6 separate regions of the Homo sapiens genome follow, and all the other regions are linked to region 4. Evidence: promoter capture Hi-C in 16 types of primary human blood cells and fetal thymus (Javierre and others, 2016). All regions are on one chromosome and are shown on one strand. Each heading gives the region's core, a stretch centred on a gene start or on the middle of the fragment in contact. The rest is flanking DNA. Distances are from core to core; before and after follow the strand shown.

What was found. Contacts are between HindIII fragments. The CHiCAGO score rates a contact against its expected background, and 5 or more counts as called.
Region 1: a contact is called between a fragment that was not itself captured here and the fragment with the promoter of RAN in region 4, in 1 of 17 cell types (total B cells). The highest score is 5.8, in total B cells.
Region 2: a fragment that was not itself captured here is called in contact with the fragment with the promoter of RAN in region 4 in 2 of 17 cell types (total B cells and naive B cells); the score reaches 9.3 in total B cells.
Region 3: a fragment that was not itself captured here is called in contact with the fragment with the promoter of RAN in region 4 in 3 of 17 cell types (endothelial precursors, naive B cells and erythroblasts); the score reaches 5.4 in endothelial precursors.
Region 5: a fragment that was not itself captured here is called in contact with the fragment with the promoter of RAN in region 4 in 2 of 17 cell types (total B cells and naive B cells); the score reaches 6.2 in total B cells.
Region 6: a contact is called between a fragment that was not itself captured here and the fragment with the promoter of RAN in region 4, in 1 of 17 cell types (total B cells). The highest score is 5.2, in total B cells.

What each region holds. Positions count from the first base shown.
Region 1 is chr12:131,877,238-131,881,779 of GRCh38, forward strand. No RefSeq gene overlaps it. Among named protein-coding and RNA genes, the nearest start is that of ULK1, 15 kb to the right of the region's middle. The HindIII fragment of the contact is 8,001 bases long and covers 1-4,542 here.
Region 2 is chr12:132,073,482-132,078,010 of GRCh38, forward strand. EP400 (E1A binding protein p400) reads left to right here. Exons shown (of 53, transcript NM_015409.5): 52 at 3,035-3,112; 53 at 3,920-4,529. The coding sequence ends at 4,192. Among named protein-coding and RNA genes, the nearest start is that of SNORA49, 45 kb to the left of the region's middle. The HindIII fragment of the contact is 1,529 bases long and covers 1,276-2,804 here.
Region 3 is chr12:132,003,900-132,008,233 of GRCh38, forward strand. It overlaps EP400 (E1A binding protein p400), which reads left to right. Exons shown (of 53, transcript NM_015409.5): 13 at 1,178-1,285; 14 at 2,213-2,403; 15 at 2,801-2,978. Among named protein-coding and RNA genes, the nearest start is that of SNORA49, 25 kb to the right of the region's middle. RefSeq lists an enhancer at 1,895-3,094. The HindIII fragment of the contact is 1,876 bases long and covers 539-2,414 here.
Region 4 is chr12:130,870,351-130,874,513 of GRCh38, forward strand. It overlaps RAN (RAN, member RAS oncogene family), which reads left to right and starts at 1,716. Exons shown (of 7, transcript NM_006325.5): 1 at 1,716-1,776; 2 at 2,234-2,279; 3 at 2,486-2,570; 4 at 2,653-2,778. The coding sequence starts at 2,244. RefSeq lists enhancers at 756-1,517, 941-1,020, 1,518-2,279, 3,508-3,577 and silencers at 1,301-1,760, 1,831-1,970, 2,021-2,230. The HindIII fragment of the contact is 6,850 bases long and covers 649-4,163 here.
Region 5 is chr12:132,051,099-132,055,420 of GRCh38, forward strand. EP400 (E1A binding protein p400) reads left to right here. Exons shown (of 53, transcript NM_015409.5): 42 at 2,048-2,126; 43 at 2,245-2,499; 44 at 3,876-3,921; 45 at 4,001-4,110. Among named protein-coding and RNA genes, the nearest start is that of SNORA49, 22 kb to the left of the region's middle. The HindIII fragment of the contact is 6,897 bases long and covers 1-4,322 here.
Region 6 is chr12:132,018,986-132,023,565 of GRCh38, forward strand. It overlaps EP400 (E1A binding protein p400), which reads left to right. Exons shown (of 53, transcript NM_015409.5): 22 at 1,064-1,233; 23 at 2,094-2,336. Among named protein-coding and RNA genes, the nearest start is that of SNORA49, 9.9 kb to the right of the region's middle. The HindIII fragment of the contact is 2,299 bases long and covers 1,442-3,740 here.

The sequences.
Region 1 (4,542 bases), core at 1,030-3,529, 1.0 Mb after region 4:
TCGTCCCCTGGGGCAGTGGGTCTTCCAGTGATTCCCTTGACATAAGGGGCGTGGACGAGGGGGCGGCTTATTTCTATTCGGACAGTCTTTTTTAAAGTGTCCTTGGAGACCGCACTGGAAGCAAGCCCTATTAGGCATTGGATTTGCCCAGCCTTTCCGTATTCCAGAGCCTCCACAATCCACTTGCCTGAGGGCCATGACTAAAGGGGTGGCCTTTTTCTTATCTCGTTTGTCCCGTTCCGCCTGCTCCTCCTGATCTCTATTATAAAAAATGGAGGTTGCCAAGTTCAATAGGGTTTCTAAGTTTTGCTCCAGGCCTAAGGCAGACTTTTGAAGTTTTTTTCTAATGTCTGCAGCTGAGTGAGTGAGAAATTTATCCTTTAAGATTAGTTAGCCTTCAGTAGAGTCAGGTGACAGGGAGGTATGCTTCCTCAATGCCTCCCTTAGTCTCTCCAGAAAGACAGTAGGATTTTCTTCCCTTCCCTGTGTTACAGTGGACATCATTGAATAATTCATAGGCTTCTTCCTAGTTTTCCTTAGTCCTTCTAGCACACAAGTTAGCAAATGTCTGCAGCACCAATCTCCATGTTCTCATTCTGTGTCCCAATGAGGGTCTACACTGGGAACTGCCTGCTGGCCTGTGGGGAATCATTCTCTTTCCTCTGTTGTCATCCTATCATCGACCTGACTGAGACACCAGAGATCTCCAAGCTCTCGGGCTGCAGTAATGGCAGCACTTCTCTCATTAGGGGTTAGTGTCTGATCTAGCAGTAACATTGCATCTCTCCATGTCAGATCAAAGGATTGTCCTAACCCTCATAAAACATCAATATAGCCATCGGGGTTATCTGAGAATTTACCTAGGTCTATTTTAATTTGCTTCAAGTCTGAGAGGGAAAAAGGCACATACACTCTGGCTGGGCCGAATTCTCCAGAATACATCTTAGGAGCGTTTTTGCCTTAGGGGAACTTTTCCTATCTGGAAAAAGAACATAGGGATGCCAGGACCCCTGGTTATTTTCTGATGAGCGTTAGTCCTAGAGTGTCCTCTATGTTCCTAATGCTTATTCCTTTCCAGGGTGCGTAACCACCCACGGACCTCTGCTTATTGGATTAGTTACACTCACCGACGTAGCAGGTCCTGCACCTGTTTTCCCACCTTTCTTGACCACAAAGAAAGAGGTCCGGGCTATTGATTCTAGTGGTCCTTTAATAGTGTGCCCGACATTGCCTTTACACCCAAGGGTGAGTTCTAGAGCTGGGCTGGGTTCCTGAGTATTTCATAATAAACCCCAGTTACCCCATCAAGATGCACTCCCATAAACAACAGTTCTTATGCAAATTCATTTCAGAGAGGGTGTGGGTAACCTTTTGAGTCAGGATTGAGATAGAGTTTTTTGATTCTGTAAGTACTTTCAGGCTTGGCTGAGTGCAAACAGCTCGCACGTTTGAGCAGACCCATTATTAGGCAATTTTCTTAACTCTACTTCTACCAGAGTTTCCCTCAATTACTGAATACCCATTGTGTTTTTTTCTCAATCACTTGGGAGGAACCATCTATTGTCCTGTCCTGAAGGGAGTTCCTCCTAGGTCTGGTCGGACCTTAGTATGGTAAATAAGATTTAAATCCCCTGTTAGGAAGTCTGCTGGGTTAAGGGAATTTTCAGTGGTTAACATTAAATTATCTTTCTCTAACAGAATAGCCCCATACTTTAAGATTTTTGAGTTAGTAAGCTACCTTTTTGCTTTTTTGACTTAGGATAGTTCTGAACTGGTGAGGTGTGCTCACAATGGGGTTTCCTCTAAAGGCTAATTTTCTGCTCTCTTCTGTTAGCAAAGCAGTTGCCACTACAGATTGAATGCATTTGGCCCCCCAGGGGTTACTGGGTTAAGGATTTTTGATAGGAAGGCTACTGGTTGTCAGTGGCCTCAGTGCTTTCGGGCTACACCCTTATTTACAATGACAACAAAGTAGTATTGGAGTGTTATAGGGTCACAGAGAAAACCTTCAGTTATCAATTATAAGTTTTAAATTTACCCTGGCTTTTAAAGAAATAGGGTACACTGTTTTTTCTTTACTACTTCTTTCTCTCTTATGTTCTCCTTTCTGTCTTTGCAGATGGATTTTTGGAAACAGTGGAAGGACGTTCGCTCGTTGCCCCCATTTGCCACTATAGGAATATGTACCTTCCTTTTATTTACTCAATTTACTTATATCCTGATCTATTATGTTGTTGTAGACCCAGTTCCAATTGTTAAAATACTGGGTTATCAGTTCTAAGGCCTTGGCAAGGGTGGTAGGAGCGGGTCCCACCTAACTGCCCATGTCAAGAGCTGTATGCCTAAATTGGGGGGAACACCAGGGACAAGACTCCCTGGGTTCATAGCCTAGGGGCCTAAGGACACAGCGTAGAGCTTCCTTAGATCCCTTTGGAGATACAACCTGCTCTAATACTTGGGAGAGGAAGTGAAAGTCTGAAGCATTAGTATCTAGGAGGCAGGGATCAGAGGAAGTAGATTCAGCAGTAAGGAGAATTTTGCGGCTACACTTTCAAGAAATTCATGCTCAGGACCCAGGAAGTATGGGTCAAAAGGAAAGGTAGGGGTGCATGTATGGACAACTGTTGAGTAGAGACTTCTGGCCACACCATAATCTCAACAGGCTAATGATGGGAGTTCAGGACGACAGCTTTCTGCCTCTAATCAGCCTTCAGCTTCCCCAGAAAGTGGAAGCTGGTTCCAGGCAGACCACGCTCCCAACCCAGAAGGGTTGGGGGTTGTTAGAAAGCCCTTTCCCAGACAGCCTCACACCTGAGTCTTAAGTCCAGTGTTTTTAACCTGCCAACTGGTGCCCGGTATTTTCCTCCAATTCTAAGGAAGGATAGGACAGAATAGCAAGCGAAAGTGGTCCAATATTACTCACCACTTTGGAGGTCCCTTCATGATCACCAAAATGTTACTGGGGGGGGTCCTTGTTCTTAGACCTCCCAAGATTGTGGCATCCACTCTCAAGATGGCAGCAAGCCTTTTGTTCTCTGACCTGGGGTTCTTGGCCTCACTGATTCCAAGGAATGGAATCTTGGGCCATGCTGTGAGTGTTATAGCTCTCTTAGAAGCCGTGGGTCATGGAAGAGAACTGTGGAACCCAGCGACTAGTGTTCAGCTTGATTAGCATGAACCTGGGCACTTAGCTGTGCAGGAATAATGGCGAGCCTTTAGCTTGATGGGGGGTGGCAATGGGCGCCTCACTGGATCAGGAGCACAGCCGACACCCTGCCGGACCTGGACAGGTGGAAGTCAGCAGCGAGTCTGCGATGGTGGCATTCAGCAGTGGTGGACGGCAAGTGAAAGCTCAGCTCGAGCCGTAACAAACACAGAACAGAAGAATGTGCAGTTGCAAGATCTAATAGAGTGAAAACAGAGCTCCCATAAAATGGGAGGGGACCCAAAGGGGGTTGCCATTGCCGGCTCGAATGCCTGGGTTTATATCCCAATCATTGTCCCTCCCTCTGTGCTCTCAGGTGTTAGATGATTGGCTATTTCTTTACCTCCTGTTTTAGCCTAATTAGCATTTTAGTGAGCTCTCTTTACTACCTGATTGGTTGGGTGTGAGCTAAGTTGCAAGCACCGTGTTTAAATGTAGATGCGGTCACCTTCCCAGCTAGGCTTAGGGATTCTTAGTCGGCCTAGGAAATCCAGCTAGTCCTTTATCTCAATATGTCTTTTTGCGTCTGTCTTCTTTCACAAGAATCATGTTTTCAAGATTCACCCACGTTGTGTGTGAAAAAAACAACAAGAAAAAACAAAAACTCTACTCCCCAAATGCTCGGGAAAACTGATTTGAGTGATAATAAAACTCTGGTCTCCCACACAGCCGGCTCTGCATGAATTACTCTTTTTTGTTGTGTTGTTGTTGTTGTTGTTGTTGTTTTTGGAGACAGTCTTGCTCTGTTGCCCAGGTTGGAGTGCAGTGGTGCGATCTCGGCTCACTGCCACCTCCGGCTCCTGGGTTCAAGTGATTCTCTTGCCTCAGCCTCCAAAGTAGCTGGGACTACAGGTGTGCACTGCCATGACCGGCTAATTTTTGTATTTTCAGTAGAGGCGGGGTTTTGCCATGTTAGTTAAGCTGGTCTTGAACTCCTGACCTCAGGTGATCCACCTGCCTTGGCCTCCCAAAGTGCTGGGATTACAGACACGAGCCACCGCACCCGTCCCAATTATTCTTTCTCGATTGCAATTCCCCTGTCTCCACGAATCAGCTTTGTTTCAGCAGTGGGCAAGGTGAACCCCTTGGGCGGTTACACTACCATTGCAGAGTGTTAAGCAGTTGCGATAGAGCCTGTGTGGCTGCAGAGCTGAAGATGTATATACTACCTGGACCTTTGCAGGAAAGGTTTACTGAAAACGTTTACTGATTTTTTTTTTTTTTTTTTTTTTTTTCTCTGTTGCCCAGGTTGGAGTGCAATGCTGCAATCTGTGCTCACTGCAACCTCCGCCTCCCAGGTTCAAAAGATTCTCCTGCCTCGGCCTCCCGAGCAGCTG
Region 2 (4,529 bases), core at 790-3,289, 1.2 Mb after region 4:
CTTGCTCCATCGCCTAGGCTGGAGTGCAGTGGCGCGATCTTGGCTCACTGCAACTTCCGCCTCCTGTGTTCAAGCGAGTCTCCTGCCTCAGCCTCCTGAGTAGCTGGGATTACAGGCACATGCCACCAGGCCCAGCTAATTTTTGTATTTTTAGTAGAGATGGGTTTCACCATGTTGGCCAGGCTAGTCTCGAACTCCTGACCTCGTGATGCACCTGCCTTGGCCTCCCAAAGTGTTGGGATTATAGGCGTGAGCCACCATGCCCAGCCATAATTCTGTCCTTTTTCATCTTTGACTTTTTATGTGGAATTACTTTCCTTCCACTTGACCCATCCTTTGGAATTTCCTTTAGTGCTTGAAAATGCCTGTGTGTCACTCTTGTTCCTGAGAGACAGTTTTGCTTAGTACAGAATTCCGGATTGGCATTGTTTTTTGGGGTTTTTTTTTTTTTTTTTTTTTTTTTTTGAGACGGAGGCTCACTCTCCCATGCTGGAGTGCAGTGGCATGATCTTGGCTCACTGCAACTTCTGTCTCCCACATTCAAGAGATTCTCCCGCCTCAGCCTCCCGAGTAGCTGGGACTACAGGCACACACCACCATGCCCAGCTAATTTTTATATTTTTAGTAGAGGTGGGGTTTCACCATGTTGGCCAGACTGGTCTCGAACACCTGACCTCAGGTGATCCACCTGCCTCGGCCTCCCAAAGTGCTGGGATTACAGGCATGAGCCACCGCGCCCGGTCGGCATTGTTTTCTGAGTGCATTCACGGTATCATTTCCTCACTGTGGCTGCTTTTGTTGTTGAAGAGGAGCCGGTGTCTGTCCAGCGTTTCTCTCTTCCAGGGTCACCTGTCTCTTCCCCACCGACTGCCTGTTATTGAGACGTTGTCTTTGTCTTTGTTGTTTTGGGTCACCTCTCTCCCCCACCGTCTGCCTGTTACTGAGACGTTGTCTTTGTCTTTGTTGTTCTGGGTCACCTCTCTCCCCCACTGTCTGCCTGTTATCGAGACGTTGTCTTTGTCTTTGTTGTTTTGCAGTTTCATTCCAATGCTCCAGCTTCTTGAATCTCGGGCAGTCTCTCTCATGTCTTTAGGAAATAAGCAGCCACTGTTTGTTTACGTGTTGCCCCTGTCCTGCTTCCTCTGCCCTCCAGGTCTCTCAGCAGCTTTTGTATTTTCTGTGTCTTTGTCTCGTCGTACTATATTCTGAGTCATGTCTTTCGCTCTGTCTCCTCAGTCACTCATTTTTCCCTTGGTTAAGTCAAATCTGCTTCAAAGCTTGTCTGTTGAATTTTTATCTTGATGATTTATTATTTTATTTTCAGAAGTTCCCAAATAATGCCTGGTCTTTGTTTATAGTCTCTTGTTTCCAGGCCTCGCAGAGTGAGTGAGGTGTTTTTCTGGATCTGGTGATTTCCCTGTCTGAAATGTGCTGCATCTGCGGGGACCCCTCGCAGCCTGGGGCAAAGGTGGAGTTTTGCTTCCGCGGGCACCTTCAGGTGCCACAGGAACACTGCTTGGTGTGTGGCTCAGGCTTTCACTCAGCTCTCAGGTGTTACCCACCTGGCCTCTGAATCTGTGTCTCCTCCTCTCTCCTCCCCGGCACTGAGGCTTAGGGCAGGTGCTTTTCTTACAGATGCCACTGGAGGAAGGGGATGCTTTCTTTGCAGCCTTTGGGTACCTTTGTGGGTACAGTGTCTCCCTCCAGGATGGCAGCTGGCAGTAGCACGGGGCTCTTTTGCAAGCTCCCCACCGAGAACTGGCCTATACCTGGTGTCTGGTCAGCTGTGTCCTGTGCGACCCTGGAGATCACGGGGTGCGTCTCCATGTGGCCAGCGATCCCGGGCAGAGGTTGTGCAGCTTTTCTGCTCCGTGACTCGTGATGCCCGCCTGTGCTTAGGTTTGGAGACTGGCAGTTCCTGACTCTTTGCAGGTTTCTTGGTACATTTAAGATTTCTTGCTAGTGCTTTATTTAAGACGTCTCAGGATTTTCAGTGCTGTGCCAAGTAAGTCCTGGACCATTGTGGTCTTGAGATGGGCCCTGGAGCACCGGCTGCATCTTTGTTTCCCAGCAGTTCCACAGGGGGCGCTCAGGGCACTTATCTTAGTGAATTTTATTTATAATTGTTTAAGTGACAGTAAACTAGTAAATGCCTTCTGATTGATTTTAATTTTAGTAAGGACTAACATTTATTTCGACCTTTGTTCATGTGTGAGTAAATCATGTAATTTCACATATTTCGCAGAATAATCTTGGGAAATATTATTTTCATCCGTTTTCTGTAAGTAACAGGACCCAGCAAGAGACCAGGGTCCGTGAGGGCCTTGTGCAGGGAGGGCCCTTGAAATCAGGGCCCCCAGCAGCTGCCCACGCTGGAGCCTCTCTTGTGTTCTGGGTGCACGCCATGACGGTGCTGATAGGACACACAGGTGGCCCAGAGCCTCTTACTACGTCAAGACAGCGGGAGATGCATGCAGTAGCAAGTGCACAGAAAGTGGGCACTGGGTGGAAAGTGTTGCTTTATAAATAGCCAGATCTCAATCATGACTAAGAAGAATGTAGAAAAATGATAAAATTACCAGCCTCAAAACCTTGGTGCGTCACCGGGTTCCCCACTTCAGCTGGCTGCCCTAGCTGCACTGTACAGCTCATTACTGGAACGTCGTCCAGGCCTGTCATATGCAGAGCCCTTGGGACTCACAAGACGCTCAAATACTTACCATCCTCAGTCTGATTCTTTCATATAAACTTGCAGTCGTTTTTGTGAAAAGAAAAAATGTGTCTGAAATATGAGACCAAAAATAAGCTTAAATGATGAGTGATGGCAAATTGGGGAGGCAGTCAGTTGACTCACCATGCAGTGGAACGACTTGCTCTCTCACTGCTGCAGGTGGGCACACTACGAGAATTGCTCTTCTGTGTCACCTGGTCATTGTGTTTTTTGCATTAACTGAGGACAGAAAGGGAGGAAAAATCTCTTTTTGTGCACATACTCCTTTGAATTGTATGTTTGGCTTTTTTTGTTTTGTCAAAGGTTGCAAAACTTCCTCAAGTTGTTCAACAGCAAACACCCGTGGCCAGCATCCAGCAAGTTGCCTCTGCTTCCCAGCAGGTAGGACGCATAGACAAAGTGGAAACCTCACATTTCCCAGGTCAGAGAATGGGTTGTTTTCATCTGAGGTCATGATTAGGGAATCACTTTTGATTTTTGTGATACACACAAAAACATTAACTTCAGGGGAAAAACTAGATACACTTAATAATGAGAAGAGTGAACAAGCGTTTAGAGGTTGTGTCAGCCATACTGAGGGAGCCTCACCTTGGGCTCATTCCCAGGACCCTTCATTCACTGATCATCGCGGGTGTGTCCTGCAAGTCGCAGACACTGCCCTGTGGTTTTAGGGAGGCACAGGCCTCAGGCAAGCAGGCTCCGCTCGGGGCCCGCCCTTGAGCAGAGGCGCTGTGGGCACAGTGGCCTTGCCTCCCACAGAAGCCCTTCAGGCGCTTTCACTGTTGTCACTGATGCTCCACAATATGACTCTTTAGCACAGTGCTTTAAATGTAAAGCGGTGCTTTAAACTTTCTAAATTTTGTTTAAAGTCACACTGGCATATAGATTTCAAGAAACCAAACTCTATTAAAAGCTTTACTACAACAACAAAATCAGTCCCTGACCCAGCTCTCACCCTTTTCCCAAGAGGCATCTGGTGTTAGTCTAAAAGCAACCATCTTTTAATTTTCCACTTGTGTTTAATTGGAAACCAGAGGTCATACTGTTGTGTGACTGGTCATTCTTCCGTGTCATAAAAGCATAGTCAGTGAAGTTTCTCGAGTCCTCCCCATCCCAAAGAACGTCCATTTTCCTGTCCCTGGACTGAGTTTCCTGGGCAATGTGTGTTTTCTGACTCTCTCGGCTCAGGCTTCTCCACAGACTGTGGCGCTCACGCAGGCGACGGCGGCCGGGCAGCAGGTGCAGATGATCCCTGCAGTGACCGCGACTGCCCAGGTGGTTCAGCAGAAACTCATTCAGCAGCAGGTGGTGACCACGGCGTCGGCCCCGCTCCAGACTCCAGGCGCTCCCAACCCAGCCCAGGTGCCCGCCAGCTCCGACAGCCCAAGCCAGCAGCCCAAGTTACAGATGAGGGTCCCTGCTGTCAGGCTAAAGACACCTACTAAGCCTCCGTGCCAGTAGTCAGGGCAGCAGGGCTGCCTCTCATCTAAAGCAAAACTACCTTCCTCACAGAAAACGCTTTATTAGTGAACCTTGGGACCATGTCACGCAAGAGATTCAGCACTGGGAAAGATATAATTGAAACAAAATAGTGTAATCATTTTATTAAAATGCATCCCACACTGCAGGACAAATGGTCCTTATGGAGTGCCGCGTTCTCTGTACTACGTGGCTCATGGAAAAAGTGACAACATGGCTTCCTCTAAATCATTTCACCTTTCAGTCCCCACCCGCACCCGTCCCCTAGAGCCATAGTACTGTGTTCTGAAAGCCATTTAGAATTTCTTTGTGAGCATGT
Region 3 (4,334 bases), core at 227-2,726, 1.1 Mb after region 4:
TTGTAGGGTGCTTGTCCATGGCATTTGTTGTTTTGGCTCAACAGTCTTTGACATAAAATACAGATGCAAACAAGCTCACATATCACAAGTACACAGCCCAACTAAAGGGTTTTCCCCTGTTAGATCTACCACTGTGTGAACATTCTTTGAACAGAAATCTGGGTTCACATTTCTGTCATTCCTCTGGATAGACTCACTAAAAGGGGAAATGATGAGGTTGAGGGCATTGGATTCCAAAGCCCTTCAGCTTTCCGTGTTGATTTCCAGAAAAATCCAGCCAGTTTATGCCATTATCAGCAGCATGTGGGAGTATCTAATTCATAATAATTTCCCAGTGTTATGATTTTAAGGTGGTTGATAATTTGGTACTTAACAAATTGTGCACTGATTTCCAGGGATGATTAATGAAAAAACATTTTATTGCCCTTTACACTTTTATGTATGTAACAGCTTCATATCCTTTGCCCACTGTTATTGGGGATTTAATTAATGTGTGGTATTTTTTTTTAAGCAATTAGGGTGAGTGTTTTATAAAAAAAGCTTAATTATGTTTTATTATACTTTTTAACATTTTTGCTTTTTGTTTCTTCATTTGATATTTTGTATTTTTATATATCATCTTCATCAGTTATTTCCTATCAATGGTGTTCACTTTTTACATTTTTATTTATTAGTCTATACTGTTACTGTTCATTTAGATTATTTCAGATATTTTAAATCTTTTGTGAATACAATTGAGTTTCTTTCAAAGATTCTCATCTTTATAGAGAAAATATTTTATACTTTTAAAAATTTGCATAAATTTCAGGGGTGCAAGTACAGTGCTGTTTCCTGGCTGTACTGTGTAGTGGTGAAGTCTGGGTCTCTGGTATGTCATGACCCAAATGTGTGTTGCACCTACTAAGTAATTTCTCATCATTCCCCTTGCATCCCCCAACAAAATATTTTACACCTTTTATCAGTAATGGGCAACCATTTTAGTTTTTAGAAAAAACAAGTGTGCTTTTAGACAATATAATCTTTTTCCAAGGAGTGATCTAAAGCTGGAAAAAGGAATACATGTGAGAGGGAGCCCCTTGCCCTTCTTACCGTGGTTCTCCTGGCTGCTGCTCCTTCCCAATTTAAATTACAGTTGTTGTTATAAAGTAACAGCCCTTCTGCCCGCAACCCTCTGCAGCTGAGCTGCCCCTCCTGGACCTGATGAAGCTGTACGAAGGCGCCTTCCTGCCGAGTTCTCAGTGGCCCCGGCCGAAGCCTGATGGGGAGGACACAAGCGGAGAGGAAGGTGCGCTCCCAGCCTTTGGAAGAATTCAGGGTTAAAAGCAGAAGCCGGAGTACTTACAAAGACTTAAAATAAGATTTAGAAAATTTCTTTTAGTTTGATAAAATAAAAAATTAGAAATATTTAATAAGTATCTTTATATTGAATAGAATTTTATTAAATTCCGTGCTTTTAATTTATTAACCTGGCACAGTTATCGGGGCACTTGATCATGTTGTGAAGGATGTAAAAATATTTTTCTCTAGATTTATAAACATCATTGTTTTATGGACCTAGATATATTTATTCAGGCTGTGCTGTGTTTGTTCAACACACCAGTTTTGAGTAGTTTATTTTACTTGGTATTAGACTTTCTAAACAGATGCACAGAGCATACCAGAAAAGGTCTGCCTTTCCTGCTCTCATTCCAGTTGTTGGGACAGTTAGACACCTGCATGCGAGTTGGGGAGTGGCCCACAGGAGCCTTGGGGAGGTCAGGCCTTACCAGACCCCACGCTGCCAGCAGGACCAGAGGAAGGAGTGGCGGGTTTGGTCTCCTCCCGGTTTCCCACATTTGGGAAAGGGTTCTGCTTTTTTCTTTCTTGGTGATAGACGGGAGATCCCTAAACCCTGAGACACCTACATGTATCTCTCTGTGATACCAGCTCCTAATTGCTATGGAGACATTTTCCAAAATGCCAGACTATTTGGGGCAAATTATACTCTTGGAGGGCTTTCCAGAATGGTCCTTGGTTTGATAGTTTCATGAGAGTTCTCTCCCATTTATCCAGGTAGCATTGTTAGATATTTTGGATTACAAATAAAAAATTATTGCCTAATTCAGTATTTAAAGTAGTTGGATTCTATAAACTTTTTCCTGTTTTAAAAAAAGGTTTAGATTTATAAAGCCTTCTCAGTGGCCCTCACTTCTCTGTTTTATTGTCGTTACAGATGCAGATGACTGTCCAGGCGACAGGGAGAGTCGCAAGGACTTGGTTCTCATCGACTCGCTTTTCATCATGGATCAGTTCAAAGCTGCCGAGAGGATGAATATCGGGAAGCCAAACGCCAAGGACATTGCGGACGTCACTGCGGTGGCTGAAGCCATCCTGCCGAAGGGCAGTGCTCGGGTCACAACCTCGGTGAGGCGCTAAGCTTTCAAGTGTGGGATGGGCCTTTGAGAGACAGAGCACATAGCTTAGCCATGAGAAAAGCTTTTCCTCTTCCCAGTGAAATGGTCTATCCCAACTGCAGAGTTGTCAGAAAAAGCAATTCTTCATGTGCCTGTAGTCCCAGCTACTCAGGAGGGTGAGGCAAGAGGATTGCTTAAGGCCAGATGTTCAGGCGTTCAAGACCAGCTTGGGTGACCTAGCGAGACTCGATCTCCAAAAGAAGCAATTCTTCCTCTTCCTGTTTTCTGTAGATCATTTTTGTGGCTTTCTAATTGGTTTATCATGTGACTGTTGATTTCAGTTTTGAGAAAAAGTTTGGGTGATTATTTTGACGAGCTGTCATTCTTTTATTTGTTCATCACTGCAGGTCAAGTTTAATGCTCCATCTTTGTTGTATGGGGCTCTCAGAGATTATCAGAAGATTGGCCTGGACTGGCTGGCCAAACTTTACAGGAAGAATCTCAATGGCATATTGGCAGATGAAGCTGGGCTGGGTAAAACAGTGCAGATCATTGCTTTTTTTGCCCACCTAGCTTGTAACGAAGGTAAGAGTTTGCTAGTTTTTTTAACAATACCTATTTGCTAGGACTTACCTATAGGCCAGTGTGTTTGATGGGAGTGTGGGGACTTGGCTATCTTATCTACTTCTTTGCTCCTATCTGTTGACCTGAGCAAATTGAGGCTCAGAAGTATTCATTTTATGAATGAATAAAAAACTGGTTCACAGTTAACATCCAGTAACAATTAGTGAAAATCTAATAAAATACAGAGACTCGTCAGGCTATGACTGAACCTTGTGACTCCAGGGTCAGGTCACTGTGCAGTGTGTGGGCAGCAGAGCAGGTGGTCCACTTCCCATGCTGCTTCTAGACTGGCATGAACCCGCCGTTGGGCTCTCAGCCGTGTGGGGTGGTTTGTGGCATGCATCTTGGCTCACTGTATCCTTTTCATGTTATCATGTCCATGCCTCCTCTCGTCCCTCTTGCTGGATTTCACCTGTCAATGGGGCAGCGTTTCTGATCCACTGCTCAGGTTCCTTAGGGAATGGGCCTGGGTACACTGTGTGGGCTCAGTCTCTGCATGGCAGCCCCAACTGGCTCTTCACCCTCCTGACACTTCTAGCTGGTACACAGCTTGTGTAGGCCCTCTGGCCTCCTTTCCAGTCTTTAGAGTCAGCTCCTTGTTCACTCCCCTTCCTCTCTTGGCTTTTGGGTCAAGTGCCCACCCTAGTCTCCTGCTCTGTGCCTAGCTGCAGAGGAAGGTGTGACTTGTGTCTCTAACACAGGACAAGGTTTCACTGTTCTTGCTCTTGTAAGAGAAGTGTTCAGTAAACATCTTGGAATGTGGTTCCCACTATATGTTCCAGACTTAAAGTAGGCTTTGCTATTGCTGCAGAGAAGAGGGGATTTGGCCTTGTCTTTACATTTGAGCTTTGAACGTAAAGCTGGACACGTTTAAATTAGGAGGGTCAGCTTAGGGAAGCGATGACCCCATGGGTGCTCTGACTGAAGGCTGTGTGGAAAGAAATGGAACACAGTGGGCTTGTGGTGGGGGTCTCAGTCCAAGTAGCTTAAGGAGAGAGAGGCAGGGCTGAGGGTCCCTTCACCTCCAGCGAGGGTTCTTTTTTTTTTTGAGATGGAGTTTCACTCTTGTTGCCCAGGCTGGAGGTGTAATGGCACGATCTTGGCTCACTGCAACCTCCGCCTCCTGGGTTCAAGCGATTCTCCAGCCTCAGCCTCCCAAGTAGCTGGGATTATAGGCATGCGCCACCACACCCAGCTAATTTTGTATTTTTAGTAGAGATGGGGTTTCTCCATGTTGGTCAGGCTGGTCTCGAACTCCCAACCTCAGGTGATCCGCCTGCCTTGACCTTCCAAAATGCTGGGATTACAGGCGTGAGC
Region 4 (4,163 bases), core at 466-2,965:
AACAGGGTCTTGCTCTGTCTCCCAGGCTGGAGTGCAATGGTGAGATCATTGCCCATTGCAGCCTGTAACTCCTGGGTTTAAGGGATCCTCCTACCTCGGACTCCCAAAGTGCTGGGATTACAGGTGGCCTAGACTTTATAAAGCTGTTATCACCTCTTTCTTCTTTTCTCAACACTATCCTTTTGACATCTATCTAACCCTGTTGAAACAGATGACCGTCATTCCTTTTAAATGTTATACAGTATTAAATGTTGTGCACATGCGTGAGGCATGAGTTTAACTCTGGGGCCTCTCCCTAGAAATGGAAATCCGGGGTCACAAGCAATGGGCATTCCCGTTTTACTGTTAGATTCTGCTCTCCCGCCAGCAGCGTCTGAGAGGTGCTTGGGGTTCCCCTGAGGGTTCTGGGGGAGCTCGGACTTGCGTTCCCAGCAGGCCGGTTGTCGCCTGCTTTGTGCCTAATTTGCGTCACTGGGGTTCCTAGCGGACTCGCCTGCAAGTGTGCTCAGGACTGCAGGGAGGACTCTTCGGTCACTGCGGCTCTCTCCCCATGGTGGACTCTTCTGAGGCGCTTGACTGCGCTGATTTGGGCCTTTATCTGTCTGCATGTCGGCAGGGGCGCCCAGGAAGTCGGGTCCCTCTAGCTCAAGCTTGTTTGGGCTCTTACAGCTTCAGGCCAACAGGGGGCTGGGAAGCTGAGCACTTACTCATTCCGTCCCCGTTGGTAACTAGGGCTGGTAGACGCGTCCAGACTGCAAACAGTATTTCATCATTTTGTCTGTAGCATGCAGCGGCCAAAGCTGCCAACCTATGAAACGCTTTGAGAAGCCGGACGCTTTGGGAGGCCGAGGCGGGTGGATCCCCTGAGGCCAGCCTGGGAGACATAGTTAGATTCTGTCTCTCAAAAAAATTTTTAAAAAATTACCCCTGATGTGGTGCGCGCCTGTAGTCCCAGCTACTCGGGAGGCTGAGGCGGGAGGATCGCCCGAGCCTGAGAGTTCGAGACCAGCCTGGGCAACGTAGCGAGACTCCGTCTCTTAAAAAAAATAAGTAGCCGTTTTTCTGGGTGGGTGCATCCCTCTCTGGTTCCTCGCTCTCCAACTGGCCCTGGTCCTGGGGGCGTGAAGGCTACGATCTGGAGAGACAGAACAGCGGGCTGCCTCTGGAGGACGGGCCTAGACCCCATTCATTCATTCATTCGTTCTGTCACCCACCCGTCCTGCGCGCACGCGAGCCACCCTAAGCCCCAGGACCTCAAGAACCCCCACCCCACGGGGCACAGACAAGGACAGGCTGGCCAGCGCCTGGAAGCCGCGTGCCTGACCACGTCTGCCCGAGCGAGTACCGCCTCCCACCCGGGAGGCAGGAGAGCCGCGACCGTCGGGCCGCGCCCAACGTCTCCCGCTCAGGGGCGCGCCGCCTCGCTTTCAGCGCATGCGCGCCCGGGAGCCCGCCCGGGGCGTCGGCGCACGCGGTCCCCACCGGCCGGCTTGCGTACGCGCTCCCGGCTCGCCCTCCCACGCGGTCCACCGCGCCTCCCGCCCCACCCTAAGCGCAGCGACCGCCCGAGCGGCCGACCGAACCGCGTTGCGTGCGTGCGCGCACGCGCGGGCCACGTGGGCGGGCGCCGCGCCGTTGCCCCGCCCCTTGCAACCCCGCCCCGCGCCGGCCCCGCCCCTGCTCTCGCGCCGGCGTCGGCTGCGTCTCCGGCGTTTGAATTGCGCTTCCGCCATCTTTCCAGCCTCAGTCGGACGGGCGCGGAGACGCTTCTGGAAGGTATCGCGACCCGGCGGGCCCGGCACGGCCGGGCGGGGACAGGGGTGGCGGCGGCGGGATAGGGGTCGGAGCCGGGGCCAGGGCCGGGGCGGGTGGCGGACCCAGGGGCAGCGGGCGGCTGAGTAGGTGGGTGGTGCGGGCCCGGCCGGGCCGGGGCAGGAGACGGGCGTGGGGTCGGCGCTAGCCCCCGCGAACCCCCGTTTCATCCTCCGCTCTCATCCCCGTCCCGGTCCCAGTCCCGTTCCCATCCCTACACCTCCGGCCGCCGTTCCCCGGGCCCCGCCGCCCCGGATGCCGGCCCCGCCCGCCGCCTTCCCGCTCCCAGGCCTGGCCGCCATGGCGCCGCGGGCGGGAGGCCTTTGTGGGGCGGGCACGTGGGGCGCTGGGGGCGCGGGAGCGGGGCCGCCATGGGCTGCGGGGCCGCGCGAGCGCTCGCCTCCGTCCTCTGCCTCCGCAGGAACGCCGCGATGGCTGCGCAGGGAGAGCCCCAGGTCCAGTTCAAAGTAGGTAACCCTGCGGGGCGGGAGGCGGCCGAGCCCGACCGCGTGCGACTCGCGGGTCCCTCCTCCTGGGGCCACGATGGCTGTAATGGGGCCCCGCATCCACATTCTTTGTTTTAAGTGAGCCTGTGGTGGTTAAAGTTCCGTGACTCTGGGATCTTGAGAGGTGAAGTGTTTAGGGTTTACTTCCAAAATGTGTTTTTCAACAGCTTGTATTGGTTGGTGATGGTGGTACTGGAAAAACGACCTTCGTGAAACGTCATTTGACTGGTGAATTTGAGAAGAAGTATGTAGGTATGTGCTGGAAAACCTTGCTTGTGGAAATATGTGAGAAATGGGTAAGTTCATCCACTCAATCGCATCGTTTCCGTTTCAGCCACCTTGGGTGTTGAGGTTCATCCCCTAGTGTTCCACACCAACAGAGGACCTATTAAGTTCAATGTATGGGACACAGCCGGCCAGGAGAAATTCGGTGGACTGAGAGATGGCTATTATATCCAAGGTAGGCATTTGTAACTTGCTGAACGGTTTTTGAGAGGTTTTGTGTACTTCAGTCTTCAAGGTTATAGAAAATCAGGTCTGTTCCAACAAATAGTGTCATTTTTGGGTTAAAAAAAGACAAGTGGACTTCGGGGAGTTGACCACCATTTTGGTGGCAGAGAAAATTTTATTAAAGTTGTGTCATTTGCATGCTGTGTCATGCTAGGCATGCTTTAGAAAAAACTATGACTTACACTGGGACTTATAAGTCATATTTAAAACAATAATAGGCTGTTAACAGCAGTTTCAGTATTTGGAAACTTAGGTTCATGTATGTATTTTGGTGTGGTGATCAATGAATGTTTTTACTGTATTAGAAAACAATAAACACCAGATACTAGACCAGAGGAGATAGGAGATCTTAACAAGTGTTATACAAGACTAGCTGATTTCTTGTTAAATTGTTTGTACTAAGTTGTGCAGAGTATTTTTCTCAAATAGTTTGATTTAAAAATTGCAAGGAAAATGTTCATTGTACCAAAAAGAGGAATCAAGAAAATACTCATCTCTCTTGGAACCTCACGTTGCCGATAACACATTATCTGGAATCATTCCATGCCTTTTGCTTTCCTTGAGCATGTACAAATAAACACAAGAATTTCCCCCAAAAGAATCCTTTAACCAAAAAGTTGTGGTTTCTTGCCTTGCTAACTGTACCATAGTTATTCCTGCAGGTGAATATATAGGCTTTATCTGGGTTATTTATTTATTTAATTTTTTTTTGAGACAGGGTTTCGCTCTGTTGCCCAACCTGGAGTGCAGCTTCCGCCTCCTAAGCTCAAGCCATCCTCTTACCTCAGCATCCTGAGTAGCTTGGACTATAGGCACGTGCCACTATGCCTGACTAATTTTTGTATTTTTTTGTAGAGATGGGGATTCACCATGTTGCCCATGCTGGTCTGGAACTCATGAGCTCAGGTGATCCACCCACCTCAGCCTCTCAAAGTGCTGGGATTACAGACGTGAGCCACATTGCTTGGCCTATCTGGATTTTTTAAGACAGGAATAATGTTTTCCAGTATAGCCAGCCATTTAAAGACCTTCTGAAGAATGTGTTTCCAGGCCCTACCCTCAGAATATGGCAGCTTGGTTATCCAGAATCTCATTTAGCATTAATTACTTCAGATACTTTTTTGGGATGAGGGGAGTATTAATGGTGAAGTATATCAGGGAGATTTGATAGGGTCAGCTCATCTCTCTTAGGAGGAATTGTGTATTAACATTTTTAGAATTGACAGAGACCTTGAAAGTGAGGGGAGAGATACAGGTGACTCGTTGAGGTCTAAGACTATAACTAGTTGAATCCTAGTCTCTGGTTCTTAGCATTCTTCACTTGTGCAGTAAACT
Region 5 (4,322 bases), core at 1,614-4,113, 1.2 Mb after region 4:
ATGCAAGAAAGTAAATGGGGTAATGGATGGTGGAACCCCAGTGTGGAACCTTACTGCCAGGCACATGGGTGTCTGTAGCGTTTCTGACTGTCGGACTCTTTCCATAAAATGTTGGAAAGGAGGTCTGCTGGGATGAAATGATGTGCATCTGGTTTAGGCACTGTTGTCTGTAGGCTCCAACCCTACAGGGTCGGTGGGTTTCTCCCCGTGTGCGGAGACGAGAGAGCGTAGAAATAAAGACACAAGACAGAGATAAAAGACAGCTGGGACTGGGGGACCACTACTACCAAGACATGGAGACCAGTAGTGGCCCCAAATGCCAGGCTGCACTGATATTTATTGGATACAAGACTCAGGCAGGACAAGGAGTGTGAGCCATCTCCAGTGATAGGTAAGGCCACGTGGATCACATGGCCACTGGACAGGGGGCCCTTCCCTGCCTGGCAGCCGAGGTAGAGAGAGAAGGAGAGAAACATCTTACATTATTATTTCTGCTTATCGGAGACTTTTAGTACTTTCACTAATTTGCTGCTGCTAACTAAACGGCAGAGCCAGGTGTACAAGATGGAACATGAAGGCAGACTAGGAGTGTGACCACTGAAGCACAGCATCACAGGGAGACGGTTAGGCCTCCGGATAACTGCGGGCGGGCCTGACTAATGTCAGGCCCTCCACAAGAGGTGGAGGAGTAGAGTTTTCTCTAAACTCCCCTGGGGAAAGGGAGACTCCCTTTCCCGGTCCACTAAGTAGTGGGTGTTTTTCCTTGACACTAATGCTACTGCTAGACCACGGTCCGCTTGGCAGTGGGTGTCTTCCCAGACGCTGGCGTTACCGCTAGACCCAGGAGCCCTCTGGTGGCCCTGTCCGGGCATAACAGAAGGCTTGCACGCTTGTCTTCTGGTCACTTCTCACTGTGTCCTCTCAGCTCCTATCTCTGTATGGCCTGGCTTTTCCTAGGTTATGATTATAGAGCGAGGATTATTATAATATTGGAATAAAGAGTAATTGCTACCAACTAATGATTAATGATATTCATAGATAATCATATCTAAGATCTATATCTGGTATAACTATTCTTGTTTTATATTTTATTATACTGGAACAGCTCGTGTCCTTGGTCTCTTGCCTCGGCACCTGAGTGGCTTGCCGCCCACAGTTGTCACACAGTGGCGGATTTGGGAGGCTTCCTCGTTCTGTGGCCCCCTTTCCGCACAGTAGTGGAGTGATCCTTGTCAGAAGGAGTTGGCTCAGGGCCCATCTCCGCAAACCCCCAGGACTCCCTACTGCCCACGCTCTGAGTCGCCTGGCCCTGGCTTTCAGCCCCTTGGTGCTCCCTGAGTGTGCTGGCAGCCGCGCCCCAGCCCTTCACTTAACTGCCCTCGTGAGATGTTTTCAGAGCGCACTGTTGAGAATTGCAGCCCCGCCCTGCTGTTTTCCTCCATAGCAGCCAGTACGTCTTCAGACCCACTGCACATTTTACCTGTTTGTCGTCTGATGTGAGTGCTGTGATCGCTGGGACTCTAGCGTCTGGGAGCACAGACCCATCATTTGATTGATGTTGTCGATTAAATGAAGAGTTAATTCACCCTACTAATATTTATGGACCGCGGGCCTGCGCGGCGTGGAGCCTGGGCATTCTCGGGGGAGCGAGAGAGGCACAGTCCCGCCCTCCCTTTACCTCCCTGGAGAGGAACTCGAGGGCATCCTCACAGAAGGAACAGACAGAGATTTTCCCAAGTACAGTGCAGACACATGAGGTGGGCTGTGCGTTTGGGGGCTGCCACAAGTACGCTGGGGACGTGTTCGGAGATACTTTTCCTGGAGAGTGGGAGAGCTCGGCCTCAAGGAAGAGGACTCAGCGCCAGGCTGAGGATGAGGTCTAGGTGGCTCGATCTCCTGCAGGGCACATTGGGCACCTTGCTTTACGCCCTCATCTCTTGGGCTGGAGCTGCCCCAGCACCTGGCAGCATGGTGTTTCTAGGGTACGTGGTACTTGTCTGTCTTAAAACTTGCCTGTATGTTTTTAACCTTTGCGTCTGTCTTTCAGTGGAATCAACTATGACAAGCCGCTGCCTCCCATCCAGGTGGCATCTCTCCGTGCAGAGCGAATCGCAAAAGAGAAAAAGGTCAGCGCCCTGGGCCCTTCTGCTTGAGTGGGAAAATGTGGTGACTGTGACTTCATCCAGGGGGTATGCAGGCCGAGTCTGCCCCTCCAGTGGCTCCTCTTCCTTCCTGGCCCCTCAGGCTCTGGCTGATCAGCAGAAGGCACAGCAGCCGGCCGTGGCCCAGCCACCCCCGCCCCAGCCGCAGCCCCCACCACCCCCGCAGCAGCCACCGCCACCGCTGCCACAACCACAGGCAGCGGGCAGCCAGCCGCCAGCAGGGCCACCAGCTGTCCAGCCCCAACCCCAGCCACAGCCCCAGACCCAGCCACAGCCTGTGCAGGCCCCAGCGAAGGCGCAGCCCGCAATCACGACGGGGGGCAGTGCAGCCGTACTGGTGAGCAGGGGCCTCCTCCCGGGCTTCCCCTCTACGGGAAGTCACCCACACCTGCACTTGATTCAAGTGCTTTCTGTTGAAACGAAGACTTGTTGCCAGTTCTAGCACATTTCCAGCTTGTAGACCTTCCTCTGAAGAAATGGGAAAAGGCTTAGTCTCATCCCAGAGGAATTGTGTGTTTTCACCTGGATTCTGCCATTTCTCTCCTCCAGGGCTTTTGTGGGCTTAGTGGCTTTATTGGATTTGGCAGGTAGAGGCAGCTCCTTTTAGTGGAGGTGGTTGGGAAGTTTGTAATTGCCTGGGTTTTGTAAAACATACCTGTGACGCATTCACTTCCTGACTTCCTACACACTTAGAGAGCAGGTACTGCCTGTGTCGGTGTCTCAAAGCATGCCCATGTGTGCTCCCCCACACAGGTCAGTCTTTAATGCCTGTTGTAGAAAAGCTGTAAAGCACACAAGAAGCATTGTGAAAAGAAAGGCAGGGTGCGGAGCTGCGGACTGTGGCCATGCACACCACGCTCTGGTGTATCTCTGTACTGTGTGCGTCCGTGTGCCACACAGACGCTGAAATCATATGCGCAGAATCACACCTGCAGAGAATAGGAGCTGTGCCAAATTGGGGAAACCCACACTTTGGACTACCAGGCAGGCATAAAAATATTTTTGTTACATAGAACCATTTCCTGCAGTAGTTTTTAGAAAATTGTTTGCTGTAGTGGAATTTTTATATGTACTCAGGCAACTTCATTCCTCATTTATTCAAAAGGGATCTTTGTGAATACTTACTTGGTGCAAGGTGGGCAAGATGGGCAGTGCCCACATTCTGGAGCCACGTCCTACAGGGGAGGGAGGCAGCCAAAGGGATCATTTTAAATGCTGGCGGGAGGAGTCAGGGTGGCACAATGCAGGACTGGCTTGTTAGGAAACACCTTTCTGAGGACTTGGCATTTGAGCTAAGGCCTGAATGACAAGGAGTTGGTCATAAGAAGAACAAAACAGCAAGTACAGAGGCCCTGAGCTTGGCTGATATGGGGGCCAGAAAGCTCAGTGTGGCTGGACTCAGGTGGTGAGGGACAGAGGGTGGATGAATGGAGTGGAGGGACGGAGGAGTGGAGGGACAGTGGGGTGAGGGTGGAGGGACAGTGGGATGGAGGGTCCCTGGGGTGGAGGGACAATGGGATAGGGGTGGAGGGACAGCAGGTAGACAGAGGGTGGGGGCACCGCCAGGTGGAATGAGCTGGGGAGGATGGGACAGGTGGCTGTGTGAATGTCGTGGAGTTTGGATTTGATTCTGAATGAAGTGGAAGCCTTTGGAGGATTTATGCAGGGGAGAGCCTGACGTGAAATTCAAATGGATTTTTTTTTTTTAAATAGGCAGGAACCATTAAAACATCAGTTACTGGGACGAGCATGCCCACTGGTAAGACAAATACAGAGATGCTGAAATGTGGACCCCATTTCTCCTGGCGCTGTTGCCTTATGCCCGCCTGTCTCCGCAGGTGCCGTGAGTGGAAATGTGATCGTGAACACCATCGCAGGGGTCCCAGCTGCCACCTTCCAGTCCATCAACAAGCGCCTGGCGTCGCCAGTGGCTCCTGGGGCCTTGACTGTGAGTTGCGCTTCACCTGGGTTGTGCACCTTGACTGCATTCTGCCGAAATTATTTGCTTGTCTGTTAATTCTTCTTCTTCTTTTTAAGTATTCCATTGGTGAAAAACTGTCTAGTTTGAATTTCATAAAATAAGTAGCTGATCAGTATGTTGATTTCAGAAACATTCAGCTGTTTAGGGGATGGTTTCCATTCTGTATGAGGGATGAAAAT
Region 6 (4,580 bases), core at 1,341-3,840, 1.1 Mb after region 4:
GGAGTTCTGCAGTCTTTCTTGTTGGCACTTCTGTATTTGGCTTCACTGGGGACTTTGAGTGGATCACCGTCCCCTCATCAGTACCAGAGGTTTCTGCTTAGCTTGAGGACTCACGACCCAGCAGGCTGCTCCTCAGAGAGCCTGCAGCCATCAGTTAAATGAACAGCACCCATTCCAGTGGGTGCTAGTCTGTCTTTTTAAAATGGCTTTTTACAAAAAAGTTTATAAAAGTTTTTAATAGAGACAGAGGTCTCCCTGTGTTGCCAGGCTGGTCTTGAACTCTTGGGCTCAAGGGACCCTCCTGCCTTGGTCCCCCAAAGTGGTAGAATTACAGGTGTGAGACCACACGCCCGGCCTAAAAATGGCTTTTGATGGCCGTCTCTGCCTGTTACATTGTATAGGGGTTTTGAAAATGGCCAATATAGTTCCCAGCTTAAAGTGGGCACAGTGGCTCATGCCTGTAATCCCAGTGCTTTGGGAAGCCAAGCTGGCGGGATTGCTTGAGCCCAGGAGTTGGAGACCAGCCTGGGCAACATTGGGAGACCCTGTCTCTCCAAAAAAAAAAATCAAATCCAGGCGTGGTGGTGCACACCTGTATTCCTAGCTACTTAGAGGCTGAGGCAAGAGGATTGCTTGAAGCCGGGAGTTTGAGGCAACAGTGAACCATCACTTGAACGGCTGCTTGATCAGACTTTTGTCAAGTTGATGTTTCTCCTCACTCCCCTCAGCCCTTGTGCTGTAATAGATGCGTTGTTTTCTATCTACATTGATATGATTGTGAAAGTTAAAACAGCATTCACCCTTGTATTCCCAGGAATCTGGGTGGATGTACCATACCACTTTGGTGTACTTAGTCTTGTTAGCCACTGCGCCCGGGCCCGGGGTGAGCTTACCTAGAGCAGTACTTAGGCATCTTTCCCCTTCCCTCTGTAAACTGCACTCTGGGTGCTGGTCCCTGAGCTGGCTTCCTATGGGCAGCGGTGAACCCCGGCTCCATGAGGTGGCCTGTCCTCTCTGTGGTCTGATGCTCTGTATCTTCTTGCCTGGACCAATGGGCATCTAGGTTGTTTCAGCCTGTGCAGTATGGCCAGAAGCCCGAGGGTCGCACCGTGGCTTTCCCCAGCACTCACCCGCCCCGGACGGCAGCCCCCACCACGGCCTCTGCTGCTCCACAGGGCCCGCTTCGAGGACGGCCGCCCATCGCCACGTTCTCTGCCAATCCGGAGGCAAAAGGTAGACTTCACGTAGTTGTCTGCTCTCCGCCTTATGGAGGTTTTTGTGGGACAAGTTCATGGCACTTTCTTCTCGCGCCTCTGGATGCGGTAATTGTCCCTGAGTGGGAACAGGCACCACCCGCTGGCTTTCTGAAGGTGCCTTGTTTAGTTCTTGATGAGTTTTAGACTTTTTGATGGCTTGTAATGGATGTTTTCCCTATTGAAGAAGCTTCACTCCTAGGTGATAAGTGTTGATCTGATGCTCACAGCCACTGGGCAGGCTGTTTCTGTTGACAGAGGTGCGTGCGTGCAGTCGTCTAGGAGACTCCTGAGAACGTCTGCTCATATTGTATTTTGTGCTGTCACTTGAACTTAATTATTCTTTTGAGGAAGGGTAGAGTAGAAAAGGCCATCAAAAGAGTTAAAAGTAGTATTTCACCACCTGGCCAAAGGGGCCCTCCACGCCATGTCCATCCAGGTTTTCTGAGCTAAAAATAAATGCTCAGACCTGCATTGTTGCCAGCATTCTCTATAGAAATATGAGTGGAAGCTCTGTTGATGTTTTCTTTGTGTGTTTAGGAAATAGTTTCTAATTGATACTAATGTTTGGTTGGGCTGACTTCTAACAGTTTCTGTTTACTCTGAGAAATGTACCGCGTAGCGTACTGTAGCTCGAAGTGAAGATAATTATCAACAAGTAAAATTATATTTCTCTCACCCTGTAAACTATATGGCCCCTCTTTTTTTCCTTAAGAGGGGACTTCTCATTTGAGAGACGGTGTGAAATGTTTATTTTATTTCTTTAAAATTCAGTTTAAAATATTGTATTTTATTAAGAACCTCTAACAGCTTTGCACAAACAAACCTTATCGATTGCAGCAGCAGCAGCCCCGTTTCAGACCTCTCAGGCTTCCGCCAGTGCTCCACGACACCAGCCCGCCTCGGCCTCCAGCACAGCCGCTAGCCCGGCCCATCCTGCGAAACTGCGGGCCCAGACCACAGCACAGGCCTCCACCCCAGGCCAGCCCCCGCCCCAGCCCCAGGCCCCCTCGCACGCGGCCGGGCAGAGCGCGCTGCCTCAGAGGCTGGTGCTCCCCTCGCAGGCCCAGGCCCGCTTGCCCAGTAAGTGGCCTCACCTTTCCAGGTTTCTGCCATCTCTCTACCCCAGAGGAGTTGTGTTAAGAACACGGGGATGTAGGAGGAGCCTTGCTGTCCACTCCTTTGTCTTTCCCCAGCCCCATGCCCGGTGCTGCCTCTCACCAGTGCAGCTGCCTCCGGCATGAGTCTAGCAGGGAGCGCCTCTGTGGAGGCCACATCCGGCCTTCTCCTGTCTGTGCTCTCTCTCCTGACCCCGCCATCCAGCTCTGCTTTTCTGCTGCACTCACTCACTGCTTTGGTGCTGTGGACGGCACTTCCCAGTGTTAGCCCCGGCCTTGTTCCACCAGCCACACAGGTGCACTCTGGGGGAGCAGATGCTCCTAGAGTGACAGCGACTGCATTTGGGAAGGTCGCTTCCTTGCCAGTCATGTGAACTAGCTTTAGGTTCCTAAAAAACATTAGCTCTTTTTAGTCTCTCGCCTGTTACCAAATTTAAACTTGGGATTGCTCAACCAAGATAACTTGTAATAATTTATGACTTAAAAAACACAGTTATTAATTTTTTTAATACAGAACATTTTGCTGTGTCCAGTGGGATTAGTATGTTTTCAAACCTTACATGTACCCTATTCATTCTGTGGTGGAAATTATCCTGACTTAAAGTATTATGTTATTTCTCAAGTGCCACCTCAACTCCTTTTGTTGTTGGTATAGCCAAATTATGTGGAGGCCTTTCTGGAAAGATGCAGATGGGAGAGGGAGTGATGCACAGAGACACTTGAGTTCAAACTAATTCTCTTTCCTTACAAGTCTCTCTCTCCCATTGCCCAAAAATAAAGAGGAATTGTCCTAGTTAAGTGCCCTAAGGGAGAAAGCAGTTGCATATTTTACATCTTCATCAAACTAGACACTGTCTTGCGTGGGATGAGAGTCATGTTGGTGGTTGCCAGAGGAGCTGTTCTTTGGGAGATCTGTGAAGTGAGCAAAACTGCTTTTCCTGTGGGTCGGTCCTCACCTGTGTATGGAACAAGGAGGATTGTTGAGAGATTGACACTTCTATGCACAAATCTCTGTCTTCTGTTTTCATTTTCCCCTCCTTGTTCACGGTTATTCTGTGGGCAAGATATCTCTAGACATTTTTCTAGCCTCTTACTAACTATTCTTTTTATCATATCACTAATAATTCTGGCATGGATTTCTCGGGAAGAACATTTAGATTCAAGTATCAACCATTGGGAAATAAGTCTTTAAACCTGTTGTTCAGTTGTAGCCGGAAGGTAGTACCTTTTTGAGTTGGGGGCAAATGACCACATCTGAGTTATGTTTTTTCAAAAAAAGTGTTTTAAGCAACGCTAAGTTTTACTTTTTTTTTTTTTAAACAGTAAATGTTATAGATTGACGCTTACCATCTAATTCAAATTAGTATGAAGCTTTATATCTTAAAGCTTTATTTATGTATGTGATTTCTTTATGTATCTAGAGGCATTGCTAGATCTTGTAGACACCGTGGCTCACACCTGTAGGCCCAGCTGCTTGGGAGGCTGAGGTGGGAGGATCGCTTGAACCCAGGAGTTTGAGGCTGCAGTGAGCTATAATCCTGCTACTGCCCTCCAGCTTGGGTGACAGCCAGACCCTGTCTCTCACAAAATAAATAAAAATACATTCTTAGATTTTGAAGAGTTATGGGTGTAATTGAAGCTAGTTATTTTTTTATATTTGTAAAGATATAATCTCTCTTTGTGAGCTAAATTGGACAGGTACTTTTCACATTTTTAAAGTTCTCTAAAGTTTAGGTTCATATGTGAGTTTCCAAGTGTATTACAAATACATTTCTGCTTTTTTTTTTTTTTTGGAGATGGAGTTTCACTCTTGTTGCCCAGACTGGGGTGCAATGGCCTGATCTTAGTTCACTGCAACCTCTGCCTCCCGGGTTCAAGCAATTCTTCTGCCTCAGCCTCGTGTGTAGCTCGGATTACAGGCGCCCACCACCATGCCCAGCTAATTTTTTTTTTTTTTTTTTTTTTTTTTTTGCATTTCTAGTAGAGATGGGTTTTCACCCTGTTGTCCAGGCTGGTCTCAAACTCCTGACCTCATGTGATCCACCCACCTCAGCCTCCCAAAGTGCTGGGATTACAGGCATGTGCCACTGCACCCAGCTGATTTCTGCTATTTTTGTTGTTTCGGTAGAAAAGTAAAATGTTCCTTAATAGCTTCGTTAATAATATCAATATCTGATATCTAAAATCCCAACCAATTATGGTTAAGTAA